Linked DNA regions of Homo sapiens: all the other regions are linked to region 1. Evidence: promoter capture Hi-C in 16 types of primary human blood cells and fetal thymus (Javierre and others, 2016). All regions are on one chromosome and are shown on one strand. The core of a region is centred on a gene start or on the middle of the fragment in contact, and the rest is flanking DNA. Distances in the headings are between cores, read along the strand shown.

Evidence for each region. The method cuts DNA at HindIII sites, captures the fragments that hold promoters and counts their contacts. A CHiCAGO score of 5 or more calls a contact.
Region 2: a fragment that was not itself captured here is called in contact with the fragment with the promoter of GCN1 in region 1 in 1 of 17 cell types (monocytes); the score reaches 5.2 in monocytes.
Region 3: a contact is called between the fragment with the promoter of DIABLO here and the fragment with the promoter of GCN1 in region 1, in 1 of 17 cell types (monocytes). The highest score is 9.2, in monocytes.

The regions. Positions count from the first base shown.
Region 1 is chr12:120,193,157-120,196,311 of GRCh38, forward strand. GCN1 (GCN1 activator of EIF2AK4) reads right to left here and starts at 1,559. Exons shown (of 58, transcript NM_006836.2): 1 at 1,524-1,559. The coding sequence starts at 1,541. RefSeq lists a silencer at 1,267-1,856. The HindIII fragment of the contact is 5,843 bases long and covers 595-3,155 here.
Region 2 is chr12:122,530,788-122,533,942 of GRCh38, forward strand. The region is part of intron 2 of KNTC1 (kinetochore associated 1); the gene reads left to right. Among named protein-coding and RNA genes, the nearest start is that of KNTC1, 5.1 kb to the left of the region's middle. The HindIII fragment of the contact is 4,966 bases long and covers 1-3,155 here.
Region 3 is chr12:122,224,386-122,227,540 of GRCh38, forward strand. DIABLO (diablo IAP-binding mitochondrial protein) reads right to left here and starts at 1,667. Exons shown (of 6, transcript NM_001371333.1): 1 at 1,580-1,667; 2 at 127-259. The coding sequence starts at 1,629. LOC128125816 reads right to left here and starts at 2,179. Exons shown (of 1, transcript NM_001414998.1): 1 at 2,045-2,179. The coding sequence starts at 2,179. The coding sequence ends at 2,045. It overlaps LOC101593348 (a long non-coding RNA gene), which reads left to right and starts at 2,057. Exons shown (of 1, transcript NR_103497.1): 1 at 2,057-3,155. RefSeq lists enhancers at 69-974, 1,384-1,433, 1,444-1,683, 1,737-2,031, 1,981-2,812 and 1 more and a silencer at 1,974-2,113. The HindIII fragment of the contact is 3,750 bases long and covers 1-3,155 here.

The sequences.
Region 1 (3,155 bases), core at 309-2,808:
AGCCTGGCCAACATGGAGAAACCCCATCTCTACTAAAAATACAAAAATTATAAAATACAGAAATATTCTCCTGCACCACCCAATACGGTAGCCACTGGCTACATGTGGCTAACTGTGCACTGAAATGTGGCTGGTACAAGTGAAGAACTAAATTTTTTTTTTTTTTGAGACAGAGTCCCACTCTTGTTGCTCAGGCTGGAGCGCAGTGGTGCGATCTCAGCTCACTGCAACCTCTGCCTCCCAGGTTCAAGCGATTCTCATGCCTCAGCCTCCTGAGTAGCTGGAATTACAGACATGCCACCATACCCGGTTAATTTTTTGCATTTTTAGTAGAGACGGGGTTTTGCCACGTTGGTCAGACTAGTCTCAAACTCCTGACCTCAACTGATCCACCCGCCTTGGCCTCCCAAAGTGCTGGGATTACAGGGTGAGCCACCACGCCCAGCCAAACAATGAATTTTTTTATTTAATTTAATTTTAACAAACTTAAGCCATGTGGCTGCCATACTGGACATTGCAGCTCTAGAGATTTTTCCCTCAAGTGAGTATCAATGTTAAACATTCAGCATGTATTCCCCTAACCCTCTCATACTAAGCTTTTCTTTCTAGTATTCAGTACAACATAACTTGAACATCAGCCACCTGCATAGGAGTCTCAGTAAATGTCTTTTTGAATGCTTAAGTGGTCATTTTCTGGGCCTACACATAAAAATCAATCCCATCACCCTGGAGACACCAAATCAGCCCAGCTGTCCTTAGACACCTGTTCTTCCCCTGCCTCATGACAATGTCTTTTCACCTTAAAACATAACAACTGGGTGGAGGAAAAGGTTTTCCCAGGTCCTTCCTGAACTACAAGGTACCCATAGGTAACACTCTTCCTGGACAGGACAGTTCTTTTCACTAACCCTGGATCTGATAACAACCAACATATATCAAGCCGTATTTTATCTCACTGAACCTTCACAACAACCTTTTAAGATAAGTATTGTTTTAACTTCATTTTATAGATGAAAAGGCAGACTTGGCGGGGTTAAGTCACTTGTTTGGCATGTCACAGAAATCGACGAGCAGGAACTCAAGCCCAGATCTGTATGAATCCAAAGACTACACTCAAAGTCCCTGCTCATAGTAGGTGCTCAAAGAATATTTGCTGAATACAAAGTTTAAGGAAGACTTGGCGTTGGCCCGGGGCTCACAGCCGGAGGGCTTTGGAGAAAAGAAGTAGAGGCTCGGTAAAGTGAACTTCTGCAACTCTGGGGTCGGGCAAAGGCCCCGCCGAGCTCCAGCTGCTGAAGTCGAGGCGGGAGCCCCGGACTCCTCGAGCCCGCGGTCTGCCTGCGCCGCCCGGGCCGGGCCAAGCCCGCAGCCCTGAGAGTCCAGCCTGAGACGGCCCCGAGACTACGACCTCCACAGCCACCACCTCCAACGCCCCTAAGCCGAGGAGCGAGAGGGGCCCCGCCCGACGGCCACCGTCCGCACCCAGTCCCTGGCCGCGTTGGCCCCGCAGCCGCCCGCCTCACCTGCGTGTCCGCCGCCATCCTGCCGGGGCTGACTCCGGAACCGCTTCCGGAACGCTTCCGGGTCACAGCGTGGCCCACGCGGCAGGGCGAGGCCGGGAGCCAGCGGGGGCAGGGCCCCGGGCTTGGTGCCCCCGGGCAGGACGGCGGCCGCTGCAGCCCGGGCAGCCGGATCACGGGCTTAAAGTTGGCCCGCGCCCGAGCCACAAGGCCTCCTCCCCAGGGCCCGCTCTTCAGCCCCGGGCGCCTCGTGGGAGACTAGCGCTTGTAACGTGGTGAGCCCGCGGTGTAACGCTATGGGCCCGCCTTGCAGCCCCTGACCCACTTCCAGCCCGCAGGGCCAGCCCTACGTGGGCCTTTCCTGAGTGATGACTAAGTTCTTTAGAAAAACAAGTGTTGCTTCCTAGATAGCAGGAACTAAAAACTAGGTAAAAGAGTCGGTGAACTAGTCTTTTGTCCTCAGTTTGTAGTTCAGTTGGCGGATGACTTGTACAGGGTTAGCAAACGTGGCTGGATACGGAGGTCAGGGAAGGTTCAGAACTGAACGAGGCCCCTGCCCTGGGGAAATGCTGGACGCCCCAGGCTGGGAGTTTTGAAGGCCACAGGGCAAGAGGCTACGTGCAGACGTGGCTGCAATTTAGGGAACAGGGTCTCCACAGCTTAGTTGTCAGCCCTGTTAGCAGTGGCTTTCAAACCTTTGACACAGACCTAGTTAGAATGAATATATCATGTTCCAGCAGACAGATCTCTAAGTGAAATACAGGAATCACAACAAAAACACCTATTCTCAGCAGATGCTGCTTTCTCTTTAAATACTGGGGCCAGGCATGGTGGCTCACGCCTGTAATCCCAGCACTTTGGGAGGCTGAGGTGGGTAGATCAACCTGATGTTAGGATTTCCAGACCAGCCTGGTCAACATGACAAAACCTTGTCTCTACTAAAAATACCAAAAAAAAAAAAAAAAAAAAAAAAGGCCGGGTGCGGTGGCTCACCCTTGTATAATTCCAGCGCTTCGGGAGGACAGGGCGGGCAGATCACAAGGTCAGGAGTTCCAGACCAGCCTGGCCAACATAGTGAAACCCCGTCTCTACTAAAAGTACAAAAATTAGCCGAGTGGTGGCACATGCCTGTAGTCCCAGCTACTGGGGAGGCTGAGGTGGGAGAACCGCTTGAACCCGAGAGGCAGAGGTTGCAGTGAGCTGAGACCATACCATTGCACTCCAGTCTGGGTGACAGGACGAGACTGTCTCAACAACAAAAAAATTAGCCCGGTGTGGTGGCAGCCTCCGGTAATTGCAGCTACTTGGGAGGCTGAGGCAGGAGAATCACTTGAACCCAGGAGGCGGAGGTTGCAGTGAGCCAAGTCCAAGCCACTGCACCCCAGTCTCAAATATATTTGAGACTATCTCGAAAATATAAATTGGTTACCACCGAGTTGGAGCACCACCCAGTTTGAAAAACTTTACTCTAGGGGACTGGCCCCAGCATCCACCAGGTGCCTATCTCAGCTGACACTAAACCTACTCCAAGTATGCAGCAGCCATAGAAACAGTAATTCTAGTGTAATAGTTACAACTGTGTCTAGAAAACTGTATAGGATGTTTGATTGGTAGCTTCATTTAGATACCCAAACA
Region 2 (3,155 bases), core at 396-2,895, 2.3 Mb after region 1:
GTTACAAATAGAGTTGAAGGCTCTGAGGGTCCATCCCTGAATCTGTGTTCCTCCTGTTTCCTACCAGAGTCAAGCACCCTGCTGAGTATGAGGTTTATCCGTGCATTTCTTTCTACATTTTAACTTTCTTCTGTCAGTAATTGCACCATTCTTGCTTCATGCCTGAAACCTTATTCTTTGCATTCTATAGAAGGTACTATTAGCTGGGTGTGGTGGCATGCACATGTAGTCCCAGCTACTTGGGAGGCTGGTATTTAATTCTTTTTTTTTTTTAATAAAAGAAATTTTTTTTCACTCAAATGGAATCTGACAGATAAGGCAGGGCATCCACTGTGGACGTTATTCCTAAAGGGAATTAAATGTATGCTTTTGACTTTTTTTTTTAAACTGGCTGATGGGATTTTAAAAAGAAATCATTCTTTATGCAGCTTTAAGCTGGTGTCTGTGGAACTGTGCTGCTTTTTCTTGCTGTGGTGCTATCTCGGCTCGGCTCACTGCAACCTCTGCCTCCTGGGTTCAAAAAATTCTCCTGTCTCAATTTCCCAAGTAGCTGGGATTACAGGTGTGTGCCACCATGCTACTAAAAATTTTCGTATTTTTAGTAGAGATGGGGTTGCCCAGGCTGGTCTTGAACTCCTGGCCTCAAGTGATCCGCCTGCCTTGGCCTCCCAAAGTGCTGGGATTAAAGGCATGAGTCACTGTGCCTGATTTGTACCGCTTTAAATGTACCATGAATCATGTTAAAGGCAGTATAATCCAACAATAAGATAATTAGTATAAGATAAACATTAATTATGAGTAGTACAAATCTCATTGTATTTTTTGTCATTATTTATTAGAGGCAAAAATTTCAAGTGCAGCATTTCTTTTTTTTAAATTTTTTGAATCCTTCGAGACATCTGAAAGCACAGTTTCTATAATGAGGAAATGACGTCTATTTTTTAGTATTTTTGTTCGTTTGTTTGAGATGGAGTCTTGCTCTGTCGCCCAGGCTGGAGTACAGTGGCATGATCTCAGCTCACTGCAAGCTCTGCCTCCCAGGTTCACGCCATTCTCCTGCCTCAGCCTCTCAAGTAGCTGGGACTACAGGCGCCCGCCACTATGCCCAGCTAATTTTTTGTATTTTTAGTAGAGACGGGGTTTCACCATGTTAGCCAGGATGGTCTCGATCTCCTGACCTCGTGATCCGCCCGGCTCGGCCTCCCAAAGTGCTGGGATTACAGGCTTGAGCCACCGCACCCGGCCATTTGTTTTTTTTTTTTTTAAGAGAGACTCTCACTCTGTAGCCCAGGCTGGAGTACAGTGATGTGATATTGACTCATTACAACCTCCCACTCCTGGATTCAAGTGATTCTCCTGCCTCAGCCTCTGGAGTAGCTGGGATTATAGGCGCCTGCCACCACGCCTGGCTAATTTTTCTTTTTTTTTTTTTTTTTTTTTGAGACGAACTCTTGCTCTGTCACCAGGCTGGAGTGCAGTGGCGTGATCTTGGCTCATTGCAACCTCCGCCTCCTGGGTTCAAGCGATTCTTCTGCCTCACCCTCCCGAGTAACTGGGAATACAGACACGAGCCACCACACCCAGCTAATTTTTGTGTTTTTAGTAGAGATGAGGCTTCACCATGTTGAGCAGGATGGTCTCGATCTCTTGACCTTGTGATCCACCCACCTCGGCCTCCCAAAGTTCTGGGATTACAGGTGTGAATCACTGTGCCCGGGCTTTATTTTTTAATATTATCAGGAGCCTTAAAACGTGGAAGTGGCTCAGGCCTTTCTTGACCTCAAGGTTGCTGTTGAAAAATAATAGTGCATGTGTATAGAATCTTGGATTCTGGTAGGAACTAAAATTCTATCTATTATTAGCACGTGGCATACACTTACCAACATGTTTTGAACATCTGCTATGTTCTGAGCCCAATATTAGGAACTTGGACATAAGATGGCATCTTATTCATTCCTTTTAGGATCTTACCTTAAAGTTAGGCACACAGGACACAAACAATAAAAGATGCTTAGCTGTGCAAGTCAGTATATGCTAAATGCCAAATGAACAGTACAGACAGTAAATGAGTAGGAATTCAGTGGCTGGAGAGCTCATTGTCGGTTGGGCAGTTTAAGGAGCATTTCCTTAAGAAACTATGTGTGAGCCCGGTGTGGTGGCATGTCCTGTAGTCCCAGCTACTCAGGCTGAGGCAGGAGAATGGCGTGAGCCCAGGAGTTTGAGGCCAGCCTGGGCAACATAGGGAGACAACATCTCTAAAAAAAATAAAAATTAAAATAAACTACACTTGCTTTGGGCCTTAAGAAGGAGAACAGTCTAGAGAGAAGAGTCTAGAGAGAACAGTGTGGACAGATCCCTAGAAGATATAGTGCCGTTCCTTTTCTTTTTTTTTTTTTTGAGGCAGAGTCTTGCTCTGTTGCCCAGGCTGGAGTGCAGTGGTGTGATCTTGGCTCACTGCAACCTCTGCCTCTCGGGTTCAAGTGATTCTCGTGCCTCAGCCTCCCCAGTAGCTGGGATTACATGCGTCCGCCACCACGCCCGGCTAATTTTAGTGCCATTCCTTGTTGGCAGTGCCTTCATGTAACCTTTTACTAGTTGAAGAAGCAAGTAAAAAGATAAGAAGGAGGCTGGGCGCAGTGCCTCACATTTGTATTCCCGGCACTTTGGGTGGTTGGGATGGAAGGATCGTTTGAGTCCAGGAGTTCTAGACCAGCCTGGCCAACACAGTGAAAACCCCGTCTCTATAAAAGAAAAAGAAAATTAGCCAGGTGTGATGGTGTGCATGTGTAGTCCCAGCTACTTGGGTTGGGGAGGCACGAAGATCCCTTGAGCCCAGGTGTTTAAGGCTGCAGTGAGTTATGATGGCATCACTGCATTCCAACCTGAGCGACAGAGGGAGACCCTGTCTCAAAATAAAGAAAAAAATAAGGTAGAAGAGGGATCAGAATGTTGGGGAATTTTCAAGGATTACACCTGGAGAAGATGACTTTTGAAATAGTCATAAAATGAGGTGATTAGCTGTATTTTGTCAGGGAAGAATAGGACTGGTTAACATTTATTGAGCATATACTATGTGCAGGGCTCTCTCATAAGCCCTTTACGTGAATTCGTTTAATCTTTATTCAGGTGAACCTTGTAGGTATTATTATTGTTAC
Region 3 (3,155 bases), core at 417-2,916, 2.0 Mb after region 1:
GGTACTGTGGGGGAAGGGATGGGAGCACTGGGAAAAACTATGGTAGCTTGTCTAATGCTTCACCGCCCACTTGAGACTTCAAGAGGACACGGTACACTAGATAAGAATCACTGCACACGACAGTACCTGTGCAATAGGAACCGCACACAGGGTTACTCCAAAGCCAATCGTCACAGTTTTGTGCCATGGTCTTATCAATTCTGAGAAACACCGCTTCTTAAAGTTAGCCACAACAGGAACACACAAACACTGTCTGTACCTGGAAGTAGAAGTCAGATTTCATAAGGCACGACCGCCAATCTGTAACAGGCTCTTGGATTTACTTGCAGGGGCTGTAAACTCAAACTCGAGCCAAGCAGGAACCTAAATGAGGATGCAGGACAGCTGAGGGGTTTTGAAATTTTCAACATACACCAAGTTTAAAATGTTGCCTCAGGCAGGGTGTTGGTGGCTCACGCCTGTAATCCTAGCACTTGGAAGGCCAAGGGCAAGGCGGGAGGATCACTTGAGCCCAGGAGTTCACGACCAGCCTGGGCAACATGGCTGGCAACATGACCCCGTGTCTATTAAAAAAAAATAAGTAAATAAAGGCCGAGGCGGGTGGATCACTTGAGGTCAGGAATTCGAAATCTGCCTGACCAACATGGTGAAACCCCATCTCTACTTAAAACACAAAAATTAGCCCGGAGTGGTGGCACGCTCCTGTAATCCCAGCTACTCGGGAGGCTGAGGCAGGAGAATCGCTTGAACCTGGGAGGCAGAGGTTGCAGTGAGCCGAGAGCGCCCCACTGCACTTCAGCCTGGGCAACAGAGCGAGACTGAGTCTCAAACAAAACAAAAAGAAAAAAAAAAATTAGCCGGGCGTGGTGGCGGGCGCCTGCAATCCCAGCTACTCGGGAGGCTGAGGCTGAGAATCGCTTGAAGCCGGGAGGCACAGGTTGCAGTGAGCTGAGATCTCGCCACTGCACTCCAGCCTGGGCGACAGAGGCAGATCTTGTCTCAAAAAAATTAAAATAAAATAAAATGTTGCCTTTAAACTTTTTAGAAACGGATGCCACAATAACCGCTCCTGCAGGCAGAATTTAGCTCTGGACCCCTGGCCTGGGTGCCAGTTGTGTGTGACGGTCCCGCTACAATCGCCCAGGAGCCTGCAGCGCTAGGTAGAGAGCCCTGCGCCAGCTCCCCCGGCCCCTTCTGCCCTCGGGAGGACGTCTTCAGACGCTCGTCTCCCTTCCCGGACTCCCCCCATGCCGTGTCCCTCCTCCTCTCCACGTCTCCTCAGGGACTTCGAGTGGCTGACGAGGGCTGGTCAGGAGGCGGAGCAGCCCCAAGAAGGCAGCCCGGGGTCTCGGGGACTCGTTTCTAGAAGATGGACGAACTGAAAAGGAAGCCGGGCTTGACCCAGGGGGCGGAGGCGGGGCTGTCCTCAGTCCTCCCGACCGGAGCGAGACGCCGCGACCCAGCTGGGCGGACGAGAGATGAGCGCGTAAGGAAGGCGGGCGCCGTGGGCCGGGCCACAGCGCTGTCCGCGTCGGTCCCTCCCTCTGGTCCTGTCCCCTCTACGCGGCCGCAGCGGTACCTGAAGAATGAAGTTACGCTGCGCGACAGCCAACTCTTCAGAGCCGCCATTGTGCAGCGCGCGGACGCCAGACGCACACGCCGGAAGTGACGCAGCTTCGTGAGCGCGGAGCGGGGCACGGCCTCCACCTGAGAGCGCCTCGCCCCATAGCCACGCCCCCACCCAAGGAAGCAGTCGGGATTGGGCAGGCAGGGGGAAAGGGGGCGAGGCTTAGGGCAAAGGCTGTAACGGCCGCGCAAGGCAACCAACCGCCGGAACTTCCGCGCGGGGCGGGGCATATGCAGGGCCTGAGGGCGCGGAGGTGGGTCCGGCGCGGAGCTGAGTCGGGCGCCGTGACGCTGGCGGGTGGGCGGGGACTCAGTTCGGGCCAGGGCTTGAAGGGAATTTCCTGGTGAGTTAGGGAGGCGGGGCCGGGCGGGAGGCGGGGCCGGGCGGGAGGCGGGGCCGGGCGCGGCGACGGCGCTGTCACTTCAGCACCAGGAAGTAAGTGGTCCAGCCGGCCAGCAGCAGCGCCCCGATGAGCACCGTGTAGCTGAGGAGCACGAAGGCGAGCAGCTCCCGCAGCAGCTGCAGCACGTGGACGGTGGACGAGGCCGGCATCGCGCTGCGCGGGAGCCCCAGGACGGTCGGCGGCCTGCCGGGCTGGCGCCGTCCCAGAGGGGCGGACGGGAACACACGAGGTCCTGGCCCTCGAAACAGCAAACGAAGGCCAGGAAGCCCACAGTGCCGACCTCCCCAACAGCCTCCTGGACGCTCGCTTCTCGGTTACACTGGAGAATCCTTCTCAACCCAAACTGCCCTCGTTCTTCGGCTCTGATCCGGGCTGAGGAGGCAGAAGCCCGGCTCTTCCCCGCGCCCCGCAGCTGCATGAGTTTTCCTCCCTGGCCCGCTCCTCCCACCACCTCCTGCATTTTTAATGCTGTGAGTGCCGCTAATGCGCTGGTGGAGTAAACCTTTCTTTTCCCGTCACTCAAGCTGCAGCCCCAGCTGCGGCCCTGGCTGGAAGGGGAAGGGGAGAGAGACCCATTTGGGCAGGAGGAAGGCACAGGCCCAAACCTGCTCTTCTGTGAGTCCCCTGGCCCCAAGGCTTGCCAGCAGCAGAGCTGGAGGATCTTTGCTTTGTGGTCCAGCATGCTTGCCTTCTGGCCAGCTGGGACTGCAGGGTGCCAGGTGGTGGGTGGGCATCAATCCGATCCTGGGCTCACCCCCGCCACCGTGCTCTGTGCATCTGCCCCAGCCCTGCTAACTTCCACCAGAGACGACATCAGACAGTAAGAACCCCACACCAGCTCATCAGACAGTAGGAACCCTACAACACCTCCAATGCTGCTTTGCCCAGCCACTCCCCACAGTGTCAGGCACTGGCTTCCTTCTCTCCCCACCTCACTTACTTGGCAAAGTTTCCACGAATCTTCCACCCTGAAGCTCCGCGGTTCTGTCTGCTCTGGTGCCCAAAGGTAGCTTGTGTGTATTCTGCGATCTCGGCAGAACTGAGATTTTCAAGCAGCGGCACTCAACAACTAGGTGTGGTCTAGAGACCAATTACAACCTCCGCGTGGTCCCCGAGCTCTCAGGG